2 separate regions of the Homo sapiens genome follow, and region 1 is linked to region 2. The links are contacts of gene promoters, found by promoter capture Hi-C in human tissues and cell types (Jung and others, 2019). All regions are on one chromosome and are shown on one strand. The core of a region is centred on a gene start or on the middle of the fragment in contact, and the rest is flanking DNA. Distances in the headings are between cores, read along the strand shown.

What was found. The method cuts DNA at HindIII sites, captures the fragments that hold promoters and counts their contacts. A contact is called where the count stands out against the background at its distance.
Region 1: a fragment that was not itself captured here is called in contact with the fragment with the promoter of GTSF1 in region 2 in 1 of the 25 tissues and cell types used here (IMR-90 fibroblasts).

What each region holds. Positions count from the first base shown.
Region 1 is chr12:54,009,863-54,015,817 of GRCh38, forward strand. It overlaps HOXC8 (homeobox C8), which reads left to right. Exons shown (of 2, transcript NM_022658.4): 2 at 1,227-2,907. The coding sequence ends at 1,519. Among named protein-coding and RNA genes, the nearest start is that of HOXC8, 3.9 kb to the left of the region's middle. The HindIII fragment of the contact is 4,116 bases long and covers 939-5,054 here.
Region 2 is chr12:54,469,183-54,475,857 of GRCh38, forward strand. It overlaps GTSF1 (gametocyte specific factor 1), which reads right to left and starts at 4,420. Exons shown (of 9, transcript NM_144594.3): 1 at 4,364-4,420; 2 at 2,051-2,095. The coding sequence starts at 2,066. RefSeq lists enhancers at 4,497-5,023, 4,689-4,748. The HindIII fragment of the contact is 6,752 bases long and covers 2,390-6,675 here.

The DNA of each region.
Region 1 (5,955 bases), core at 1,747-4,246, 460 kb before region 2:
TTTTCTCGAAGTTGGGAAGGCTCCGCTGGGGCGGGGCAGGGAGGGGGTGCCTAGAACATTTAGGGGATTGGGGTGAAGGTGAGAGAAAGCTGGTGTGTGGCCGCAAAGGGTTAAAAATCGTTTTCTCCATCTCTGTCTGTCTGTCTCTCTCTGACTCTCCCACTCCCCATCTCTAAAGTCAAAGTTGGGGAGGTGGCTGGGAATGGTACCCTGAGTACCCTGAGACTGTCAGCCTTTGGAACAAACCAGTTTCTCCAGAGGCAGGGAGCCTGGAGTCCAGGACACTGGCCAGGCTGTCTTGGGGCAAAGGGAGACAGACCCCTGTTGCTCTGCCCTAGCCAGAGTGTGGTGAGACTCTAAGGACAGGCTCTCTGGCTCTCTAGGGCACCCATAACCTCCTCTCAGAGAACCAGCCTGAGGGCCACTACCCCAACTTTTTTATACTTCCCCCAGTTGGGAGAAGACGGGGGAGCCTGAGAGGAGGGGGAAAAAAGAGTGCTCAAAAGGAGAGAGGCCATAGAGATTAGGGGTTCCTGAGGTCCAGAAGACCCTAGCCGCCCCCCCAATCAAGGACTTGTGGGGTCTCCCTGAGACCTGCAGAGTAGCTTAGGTCATGAGCCCCTCCAAGGGTGGCCCCTCATGGCCCAATTTCGAAGTACAGGGGGAAGCGATAAAGCGACAAGTTCCGGCGGGGATGGCCCATGATTTATTTGCTGGTCTCCAGTTAGCAATCAGGCGGAGCGGTGACACATTCCAGCAGATCAATTATTTTTCTTATTGGAAAAGCATTAGGCAGAGAGAGACAAGGAGAGGGCAGTGGGCAGAGCCCCTCTTCTTTACCCCCAGCTTTTTTTCCTTTCTTTTGGAAACAGTCTGTCCCCAGCCTCGCTCACTAAATGCCCTGCTGCACTTGTAAACAAAGCTGCAAAGGCCAGTTCCTAGGATTACAGGCCTGGTGGGGGGGATTCTACAGGGCTCCCCAGCCCCTGAAAGGCCCCAGTTTCCAAACAGACCCTAGCCCCCACCCCCACCCCACCTCCCAAGGTGAAGCCAAACAAAAACAATCCCCCAACTTTTCTGCCCTTGTCTGCCTTCTGCTCTAGCCTTTTCCATAGAGGGGAGGCGAACTGAGGAGATCAGAGAGGGGAGTTTAGAGTAGGAAGAGTGGCAAAGGAAAACCAAGCCCCCATCCAAACGTAACCAGACTGGGGTTTTCTTCTGTCCAGCTCCGGGGAGGCGCAGTGGACGGCAAACTTACAGCCGGTATCAGACCTTGGAACTAGAAAAGGAGTTTCTCTTTAATCCTTATTTGACACGAAAACGTCGGATTGAAGTCTCTCATGCCCTGGGACTGACCGAGAGACAAGTGAAGATCTGGTTCCAGAACCGAAGGATGAAGTGGAAAAAGGAGAACAACAAGGATAAACTGCCGGGAGCCCGAGATGAGGAGAAGGTGGAGGAAGAAGGAAATGAGGAAGAGGAGAAAGAAGAGGAGGAAAAGGAAGAAAACAAGGACTAAGCAAAAAAGAAAGACCCCCCCCCCCTTAGCAACTCCCTTGAAGTTTCGTTTTATGGTAGCAGATAAATTGAGAAGTTTACGACTGTCATTTGCTTTTATAGAGAATAGAATGACACTCACAACTCTAACTACCTGTCAGATACTTGCAGCTCTGGTTTTATTACCTTTGGACTTCCCCCACTCTTTATTTGTTTGGGGGCTGGAGGGGGGAGACGGAGAAACAGTGAAAAGTTCGGACTCTCTGTCTCACTCCTTGCCCCACACACACTTGTCCCTGCCCCCACCCTTCTGAGTCCTTCCTGGATTTTAAGGTCTGAGACCTGGCCTCCGTGCTCCTCGGTCTGTCTCTCACCACACTCCCACCTCCCTGCTTCTCTGGTATTTATTTTAGAGGGGAGCCCCCTCGAAATGCAGAAAAGGACTTGTGGTTTTGTTTTTATGCTAAGGCTAGTGTACTAGATGTACTTTTTCTAAAAAGGAAAGGACAGAAAAAAATGAAGAAAGGAAAGGAAGACAAATGTAAAGAAATAAGGAAAAAAGCAAGGAATATCCCCTCCCCCTCCCCCTCCCCCTCCCCAGGGCTCCCTGCTTAGAAAAACCCCCTTGACTTTCTCTAGGAACCTGATGGAAACCTGAAGGAGATGTGGGTCTTTCCCCTCCCCCCATTTCCAGAAGGGTAGATAGGAGCCTGCAGTCGCCTCTAAAATCCTACCTAACCATCCCATGGTCACTCGGGCCCATGCCTTCCTCTCCTTCGCTGTTTGATTTCTATTCTGTTGGGCCCGCCTTCCTCTGAGCTGCATTAGTGTTAGTGCTCAGAAATCACCATAATCACGAAAATAATAATAATAAATCTTTAACATACTACCTAAAGGGAACCTGCAATAATCTTGAAAAAGAAAAAGAGAAAAATTTTAAAATCCTGCTATAGGAGAAAAAAAGAGAAAAAAATAAAAATCAAAAAAAAAAAAAAGAAAGAAAGAAACCTCCAGCGTATTTTATCACTACCTATAGAAAGAAATCCTGCTTTGAGAGTATTTGTAATGCGGTTTTGTTGTCGTTTGTTGCTGCTTATTTCACTAAGAAAACCCAACAACTGAGACTGCCTAGCCCGCCGGTCCTGTGCGCTTTTATTGTGCTTCTAACCCCAGTAGAGTAGAACTAAATTGCACTGAATGTATAGTTAACTCTGTCTTGAATTCTCTGTTTATGCAATGTGCTCGAAAGAAAAAAATGTTAAAAATATATCTATAATAATAATTTTTTGTCATTTGTCTTTATGTCCAGCTATGAATGTAGATTTTGTGTCCCGACAGCCCTGTTCCTGGTCCAAGTACTTTGTATTGTATACGTGAGTCATAATAATAAAAAGAAGAAGAAAAATAATAGAAGCTGGAATGACTTGCTTTTTCTCCACAGCTCTTCCCTATTCTCTACCTTCTCTCTCCTTATCCCCCTGTCCAACTCTCTGGAAAAGGTCTGCTTCACTGCTCTGGCTTTGGGGTTCAGAAACTCACGTGGAGAGAAGCCTGGGAATTGAGAAAGCATGCTGGCCTGGGAGGGCAGGTGAAAGGGGTGAGGGGTTGAGAGGAGGAAGAAAAGGAGCAGTCCATTGGTTGAGAGAGTAAGGAGTCTATAGGTATGCCCTTGGGGGAATCTTGGCTCCAAACAAAGTGGGTTTCCAGACGCCAGGATCCCAATGGGAAGAAAGATTTCCTCACTCATCCACCCTCCTCCTCCTCAGCCTTGGGCTGGGCCCAGACAAAGAATCTGCCCTATGCAACTATGACTTTTTCTTCCAGGGTCTGGGGCTGAGGATGAGATAGTGGGATTCCTTCTGATCTCCGCATGCCCCTTGTGGCCAGACCTTAGCACCCAGCACCCAGCACTAGAATAATGAACCGGGTGGGGATGTGTGAGGCTCAGGGCAACTGGCTGGCCTGTCTGCAGGGCTTGCCTGAAGATGGGGGATGCTAAGAATGGAGGGTGAGGAAGCTTAAGCCTGAAGGAGAGGAGAAAGGAAGGGGAAAGTAAGTGAGCTCGTAGGCAACCAGCCTGAGCCCACATCCTGAAATTCACATTCAATCCTCTGCACAGGAAGATTGTCATCACTGTCATTCAGCCCGCTTGCATCCACTCCAACTTCTGTTCAGACGGTTTAAAGTCCACTCCCCACTTCACCTTGGCAATTGGTCAGCTTACCCAGCCCCCATAGTGTGGGCCATTGGCCTGGAGGATGGGCCTGCTGAGTGGACATCCTGCCACCCCAGTCACAGCGGGGTAAGAGGGCGTCTTTATTGGTATCTTCATTCCCCAAAATGAAGAATTGAAGGCTCAGGGACCCAGGGGGTAGAAGGGTCTCTCACTTCTCTCTGGAGAGTCCTGGACTTAAAAATTCTGTTTATGCCAATAAGATTCTGGTCAAATAATCCCAAATTCCAGAGATACAAGTCTTCTGACTCAGTCAGGAGAGGGGAAAAGGGAGGGGAGGGATCTTCTGGTCTTAAAAACCAGACCCCCGAAGGCTGAAATATTTTTGAGGCCAGATTTTCTTTCTTTCTTTTTCTCTTCTCTTCTCTTCTCTTCTCTTCTCTTCTCTTCTCTTCTCTTCTCTTCTCTTCTTTCTCTCTCTCTCTCTCTCTCTCTCTCTCTCTCTCTCTCTCTCTCTCTCTCTGTCCTCCCCACCCCTCATCTGTCTAGCTCCTGGTCAATGATTTTCCCAGACCTAGGCCCAGGCCAACTCTTGTTTTGTGGAATTTCACCCAGGTCCCAGTCACTGGTCCCCACGCAAACCGGGCCTGAAAATCGGGCCTGAGTAGAGAATTGAGTCGGGCTTCCTTCACAGGGGGACTCCTGCAGTCCGAGAAAGGCTGTGAATTGGAAGCACAGGCTGCAGGCAGCTGGGGCAGCTTTGAGCAGGAGCTCCGGGAAATCTTCTCTAACCTGGGGTCCCTGCTGTGAGCAGCGGCACCAGCCAGGTAACCTGTTCTCAGTGGGAGACACCGGCTACCCACCAGGGAAGCCAGAAAAGAGGCCATTTCGCTCAGACCTCAGGCCTTCCCACAGGCGTGTCCTCCATACTCCGAGGGATGGCTGAGGTCCCGTTTCGTTTTTAAACGTGGAATTATGATTGCTATTAATAAAAATATCTGGCCCAGTAGCCTAGCGGAATGAACCCAGCATTAAATGGCTCCGAAGGGCCTCGCCGCCTTTTCCCCACACCAAATGTGCCATTTATCCCTTGTCCTGTTCAGCAATGTCCGTGGCCCCAAGCCCGGCGCGTCGGAGGGCGGGGTGCGTCTGGCGCCCGGCTTTACTCGAGATGCCAGGCATGGAGAGGGCTAAGCCGAGGGAGCCCCAGCCACCCCCTCATGCAGTACCCGCTCCCCCACCCCTCCTGCCCACCGCCTCTGTTTTCTCGTTTGGAAAGAAATGGAGGTAAAAACCCGTTTTATGGGGGAACGTAATTGTGAGCGGGATGCGCTCTCTTTAGAATCGCGTCCTCCCAAATGCTCCCGCCGTCCCATTACCGGAATGGGGACCATTCGGCTGCTGCAGATAGGACTTTCTCTCCCATTCTTTACTTTTTTATTAGCCAATCAAAGTGGCTTCCGAAAGCCATTTGTGATTTGTGAAAAATAGTATCTTTCAAAATGCTGAGTTGAAGCATCTCGCTCATTGCTCCTTGAATTTATTATTCTAATCTCAACCGTAGAGCTGGAATAATGCAGCTATTAAGTTGGGGGGCAAATTCGTTTCTCTGGATTAAATTTTTTTTCCTCCCCACTCCCTCATTGCATCAGCCAAGGAAGGTGCGGACCTGCAAGAGATCTGGGGGTGGGTGAGAGAGGTAGTGAGCGTCCTGAAGGGCTCCTTGAGGGACCCTTGGATAGGCGAGTGGTTTGGTCTCCCCAGTCTTATCTTCCCCAGATAAGATGCCCTAATGACTGCCTGCTGGCTGGGAAAGTTACCCCGCCCAATTAGGGAGAATTCAGGACAGGTTGTGCCACAGTCTAGAAGTAAAATTTCCGGTGAGCTGCCCGCAGCGCCGTCCCATTCTCCCCGCTGCCCATTGTGAAAAGCTGGGCCAGCGCTTCCTTGTCGTAATTTTTAACTACCTGTTATAAAATTTATGGGTGGGTTTGTGAAAAGAAACGAGGTCCCTGCATCCGGCCTAGGGAACTGCTTTTCTTACTATGGAGGAAGTCTGGGGAAGGCATGAGGTATCCCCTCTTGGTCAGGGTTGAGGCACCCAACCATTGAGATTCCCATGCCAGCTTGATGCGGGACCAAGTGGAGAGATGCCGGCCTTCAAATCTCGAGCCCGTGGGGAGAGTGACCTGCCTGCAACCCCTCCCCCGGCAAATAGTCTCTATGGGGGAATTTATTCTGGACTCACCTTCAAAATTAGGGGTCTGGAAAAACAGGCTGCTCGA
Region 2 (6,675 bases), core at 3,170-5,669:
ATTCTCCTGCCTCAGCCTCCCGAGTAGCTGGGACTACAGGTGAGTGCCACCAGGCCCAGCTAATTTTTGTATTTTTAGTAGAGACGGGGTTTCACTATGTTGGGCAGGATGGTCTTGATCTTTTCACCTTGTGATCCACCTGCCTTGGCCTCCCAAAGTGTTGGGATTACGGGCCTGAACCACCGCACCCAGCCTTCTTTTTTCTTTTTAAGAGACAGGGTCGGCCAGGCGTAGTGGCTTATGCTTGTAATCCCAGCACTTTTGAGAGGCCAAGGTTGGTGGATCACTTGAGGCCAGGAGTTCGAGACCAGCCTGGCCAACATGGCGAAACCCCATCTCTACTAAAAATATAAAAATTAGCCAGGCGTTGTGGCATGCACCTGTAGTACCAGCTACTCAGGAAGCTGAGGCAGGAGAATCGCTTGAACCCAGGAGGCAGAGGTTGCAGTGAGCTGAGATCATACCACTGCACTCCATCCTGGGTGACAGAGCGAGACTCCTTCTCAAAAAAAAAAAAAAAAAAAAAGACAGGGTCTTGCTCTGTCACCCAGCCTGGGGTGCAGTGGTGTGATCATAGCTCACTGTAACCTCTAACTCCTAGGCTCAAGTGATCCTCCTGCCTCAGCTGCCTGAGTAGCTGGGATTACACGCATGAGCCACCACGCCTGGCTCAGGAATTTCACATCTTAAGTAAAAACACTTTAAGAAGGCTAGGTGTGGTGGCTCACACCTGTAATCCCAGCACTTTGGGAGGCCAAGGCAGGTGGATCACAAGGTCAGGAGTTCAAGACCAGCCTGGCCAACACGGTGAAACCCGGCCGGTCTCTACTAAAAATACAAAAATTAGCTGGGCATGGTGGCACACGCCTATAACCCCAGCTACTCAGGAGGCTGAGGCAGAAGAATTGCTTGAACCCGGGAGGGTGGAAGTTGCAATGAGCCGAGATTGTGCCACTGCACTCCAGCCTGGGTGACAGAGCAAGACTCTGTCTCAAAAGAAAGAAAACAAAAACTTTAAGAAAAATTAAGGGGCAGGGGATCCCTTTTCTCAAGTGTGGTCCTCAGATCAGCATCACCCTGGTAACTTGTTAGAAATGCAAATTCTCAGATACCAGACCTTTTGAATCAGAAAATCTGCAGGTGGGACCCAGCAATCTGGTTCAACAAGCTTTCCAGGTGATTCTGCTGCATGTTAACAAGTTTGAGAACTACTGTGTTCTAGATATTTAATAAAGATTATTTCTATGTAGTTTCTGTATTTTGGAGATATAGCTCTCCACTGGACTCTTCCTAGAGGGTAGAATGGGACTGAAATATCCTTTAGTTGGAACTTTTAATTATAATGAGATTCTGAACAAGACAGCAAAGTAGGAAGAAAAAGTAGGTACTGTTGACAAGTTTTATCCACGGGCATAAACTCAGATATTCCTCAAATTTAGTCAGAGCCTAGAACAGAGCCTGTGGTGTCATGTAGGGTACTAGGTATAAACAATATAGAAGACTCTGGTTCTGACTCTGTCCCTAACTATGTAAACTTGGGCAAAATAATTAATCTAGGTTCTGTTGTCTCTGTTGTAATAGATGATTTTTCAAGTCCCTTTTGGTTCTACACTTGTATGATTCTAGGTGCTGGCTCTGCTTTGATTTCTTGGGCCATCTAAGGTTCCTGGATCACTTGAGAAATAAGAATCCTTCCCAGATTTCTTATCCTAAAAACTAATGTACATCAACATTATTATATATTACTCCTCAAAATAGAAAGTAGAAGTTACTATCCCCGTGTCATACATACAAGAAGGTGAAGTCCTGCCTCATTTAATAGTTTAACAAAGGTGTCCTAACTGTGGCCTTTTCAAAGCTTTATGACTTCTCATACCTCTTTTCTTAATTTTCAAGTATCTTATTTCAAATTTGGGCAATACCATAAAGACTTTTCCTCCTTAGCAGTTGAGAAGTCCGACTTCTTCCCAGCACACTAAAAGTCTTGTCAGATATAAAACTATACGTAAATGATTTAACTTATTTTCTAAAAGCAACAAGGAGTACATACTGTAAGTTTCTTCCATGTTGGAAATGAAGAAGCTGAATCCAAGTGCTGGAAAAAACAAAAGTGTGATTCAGGAAATCAGAAATAAAATGTACCAAAAGGTAACCCTAAGAAGTGGAGTCACTTCTGGATTTGAAACTACCCAAGTTCAATATAAGAAACCTTTACTCTCCCCACTCCCCCCAATATTTTCTTCTCTTTAAAGCATTCTTCTTGGAATCATTTTAACATCATGGCCTAATTCACATTCTTGGAATAAATTCTAGGGCCTACCAAATAGTTAAGAAAAACCAAATATGACTCCTATAGTTCAAATTTAAGCTGTATTTGGGTGATAAGATGTCTACCTTAAGTGCTATTACTTAAGTGCCTGTCACTGTTTAGCATCTATTAGGGTTTGACACTATTAATATAATAGTGATTATAATATAAATATCCATATAATATTTAACATTAGAGGGGGCAAGTCAAGACCACAAGAATACTGTCATTTAAACTTATGCATGAGGGCTGGGCGTGGTCGCTCACACCTGTAATCCTAGCACTCTGGGAGGCTGAGGCAGGAGGATCACTTGAAGCCAGGAGTTTGAGACTAGCCTGGCAACAAAGCAAGACTACGTCTCTACAAAAAACAAAACAACCCCCCCCCAAAAACAAACAAACAAACAAACAAAAAAACAAACTTAGCCAGGCATGGGGGCTCATGCCTGTAGTCCCAGCTACTCAGGAGGCAAAGGCAGGCAGATCACTTAAGTCCAGGAGCTATGAGGTTCGTGCCATTGCACTTGGCCTGGACAATGGAGTGAGATCCTGTCTTTAAAAAAACAAAAAACCCCTTATACATAAACACAGAAATAATGTTCTATTATAAAGCTTTCCTCCTGGGTTCTTAAAAATACAGATAGGCAGGTTACCAGTCTTGTTCCTCTCTAGGACCTGGAAATGCTGGAAGTCTTTGACAGACAGTATACACTCAACCCTTCCAATATGCTTGGAAACACTAGTTCACCATTTTCATGACTTTTCTTAAACATGATCAGGAAGGGCCACACTAACATTGTCCCTTTTTCTAGTGAGGTTTCACCTCCTCTCATCCCAATCTTCAGTGCTAAAGTGGCAATACTTTAAGCTTCTCCAATTAATACTCATTCCCTCTATGCACTAAGGGAAAACCTCTCAATGTTAGGACTCAAGAACTGTCCATATTATGGATAACAGAGTCACAAGAGAACAAATCTGTAACAGGAATGTGAAACATTAAAAGAGAAATGGTTTCACAGTTTGAATCCTTTTCTATTAGAAATCTCTTCTATTGAGCACTGAGACTAAATACATTTATTATTGTGGGAAAAACCTGAATTTATATAAAACCATCCCCATACGAAACTTCTGAAAATTGTCTGTCTCTAGAGCATGCTCTCCTTTGGCCCCTCACACAATTCTACACTCCTCACCACCCCTCCCCCCATTCTGTGACATAAGCAGCGTTAGAACCTATGATAGGAAATACAAGTGATCAGCTAGAACTCTAGTTTTTTTGCTACTGAGCCCATTTGTTAATGACAATCATTAGTGAATTTGTCTTAAAAATATTTTTCATATTTATGTTTGGATCAAGAAATCCCCACCGTCTTTTTGTATATATTTCACTTATACATAGTTACTTCATACTTTTTCATTAAAAATAAGAGTTTTGGAAGGAAGAACCAAGTATGTTTCTTGATTTTAAGTGATGAGCACCAGATTCAGCAGCTTGTAGGAAGCCAACCTATTCTTCCCGGACAAAAGGACGAATTACAGTACACTAGGGGCACTGGAATTCACAGTACCATCACTTAGCCGTGTCTGTTTTAAGTATCTTCCGCATCAAACTGTTAACGGGATTCTTTACCTTTTCCCTACTACTAGATCACGGTGAAATAGACAAGCTACGCCGGAAGCAATCAAGTTTAGGGTATGGATGTAGTCGGCGGCTACTGGTTAAACGCTTAACAGAATTCCGGCCTTAGTAAAAGAATCATTTTTCTTCCTTTAAACAACAACAACAACAACAAAATCACAGTAGACTTAATCAATGAGACTAAATAAGAGAAAGTGGGGGAGGTGGTTAACTTAAAAAAAACATAGAAAAGGCGCCAAGGAGGCCCTCGAGTGGGCAATGCAGCGAAACAGGTTGGTAGCCAAAATAGCTGCATTGAGAGCCCACAAGGCTGAAGGCTACCAGCAGAAAAGCGAAATGAGGATATTAGAAGGTGAAGGTATCCCGGTACGCAAAATAGGAATTGCTTAGAGGCGCCCCGGGGTGCCTTTCCTTACCTCGGTGGACACACACCTTCCTCACAGTCACCTTCCTCCCACGCAAGCCCCAGCAACGGCCACTTCCGGCGCCTAACGTTGGGAGGTGGGGCGAGGGGCCGGCACTTCCTGTGACTGGGAGTCTCGGTTCTGGCTGAGTGTGGGGCAGGGTGGATCAGCTGTGGAGTTCACCTGTGAGCCCCTAGGGTCAGCTCCCTGATGACCCTTTCCCACGAGGATCTCCTCCTTGGGCACCCCATCTTTGGGGCCATCCTCCCCTGGCCCCCAGAACAACAGTGGCCTTGAGAGGGTAGAACTCGCATTTCTTTCCCTGGGTTTTGTGGCGGCCATCTTAGAAAAGGCAGATGAGCACTTAGAAATGGGCACCTGCGATTACCTCAGGAGTTCAAGACCAGCCTGGCCAACATGGTGAAACCTCGTCTCTACTAAAAATACAAAAATTAGCTGGGTGTGGTGGCGGGCGCCTGTAATCCCAGCTACTTGGGAGGCTGAGGCAGGAGAATTGCTTGAACCCGGGAGGCGGAGGCTGCAGTGAGCCGAGATTGCACCACTGCACTCCAGCCTGGGCGGCAGAGTGAGACTCCGTCTCAGGAAAAAAAAAAAAAAAAAAAAAAAAATGGCGCCTGAGGGAATGGGACTGATGGAACTGGTTAGAGGTGGGGAGCTGCCTAGAAAGAAGCCTTGTTTGTGGAAGTTGTCTAGATAGAAAGGTAATTTAGATTTTGAGGGAAGAGAAGAGGAATTATAAAGGAGATACGCAGTGCAGCCACAAAACAATCACCAAGGACAGGAATTTTGTGTCTGGCTGTTCTTGTTTAGAATGTGTTGTAAAATCCCAAAATTCAAAAGGCACTAACTATCTGAGAATGCTTGGTAGGATGATGGTTGTTGCTGCCTGATGAAAGCGAGTTTTAGAGTTGGGGAGAGAGCTCAATGAAGAGTTGGAGAGGACAAGAAGGCCGGAAGGTTACAACTTGTTAAGGGAAAACCAAACGTAGTGTGAGGCTTTGTTCTGGGGAAAAAAAGTGTAAGCTGCAGTTCTTGTCCCCAGAGTGCTTAGAAAAACGACTCCCAAAGTGGATGAAAGGTTTAATAGCAGTACAAAAAATGCCAAAAAAAGTGGTAGAGACTGTAAATTCCTGTAAGGAAAAAAATTAATGGGGCCTGAAATGACCTGGGAAGGCATTATAGAGAAAAGGGACTTGTAGCCTTTGAAGGTTAGACAAAAAAAGGAAGGTGTTGACACTACAAGTAGATCTGGTGGTAATATTTTTCAAAACCAAGAAGTAAAAGATATGACAAAACATTCTGTGCTGTTCAAGATGTAGGAGGCAGTCTGGGTGATTAGTCTGGGCAGTGAAATATTGGGATTTCTACAGCATTTCAGTGGTGTAGAGCCCAAATAGGACTTGAGAGGACTACCCTGACAAAAACTGAATGTAGCTTTAGTAAAAAGGATCAGTGGGGCATTTTCTTTTTCTTCTTTTTTTTTTTTGAGATGGAGTCTCGCTCTGTCGCCCATGCAGGAGAGCAGTGGCATGATCTCGGCTCACTGCAACCTCCGCCTCCTGGGTTCAAGTGATTCTCCTGCCTCAGCCTCCTGAGAAGCTGGAACTACAGGCAGGCACTACCACACCCAGCTTTTTTTTTTTTTTTTTTAAGTAGAGACGGGGGTTTCACCATGTTGGCCAGGCTGGTCTCAAACTCCTGACCTCAGGTGATCTGCCTGCCTCGGCCTCCCAAAGTGCTGAGATTACAGGTGTGATCCACTGCGCCGGGCAAGGGATGTTTTCGTTTTACATGATTAATTTGTGAGCGTTTATTGTTGTTACTCCCTCCGCACCCCCTCCCCCCGACCTTTTTTTCCTACTAGAAGAGAGTTTGCTCCACAGCCATCAGTTCAGATTAAGACACTAAAAAGAACCAAGTGTTGATGGAAGCCAGGCTCAAGCCATTGTAGGCTAGTGGTTCTTAATCTTGTCTACACCTTAGAATCATCAGGGGAGCTTTTAAGACATACCATGCCAACTTCCCATCCCACACCAATTAATGTGAAAGAGCCAGGCATAGTTATTTTTAAAAATCTACCCAGATGAATTTAATGTGTAGCCAGGGCTGAGAACAACTGACCTAGGCATTGTTTTGAAATCAAAAAAGCCATTCTTTCACCCATGGCCTGGATGATTCATTTGAAGGAGGAGCAAACTGTTAAAGTGGTTTGCGAAAGATAATTGCTAAGAAGGAAAGCTTCATTGCAAGCTTAGCACTAATCATTTTGGAAAAAGTTGTTTTGGCAAATCAGTTTTAGATTG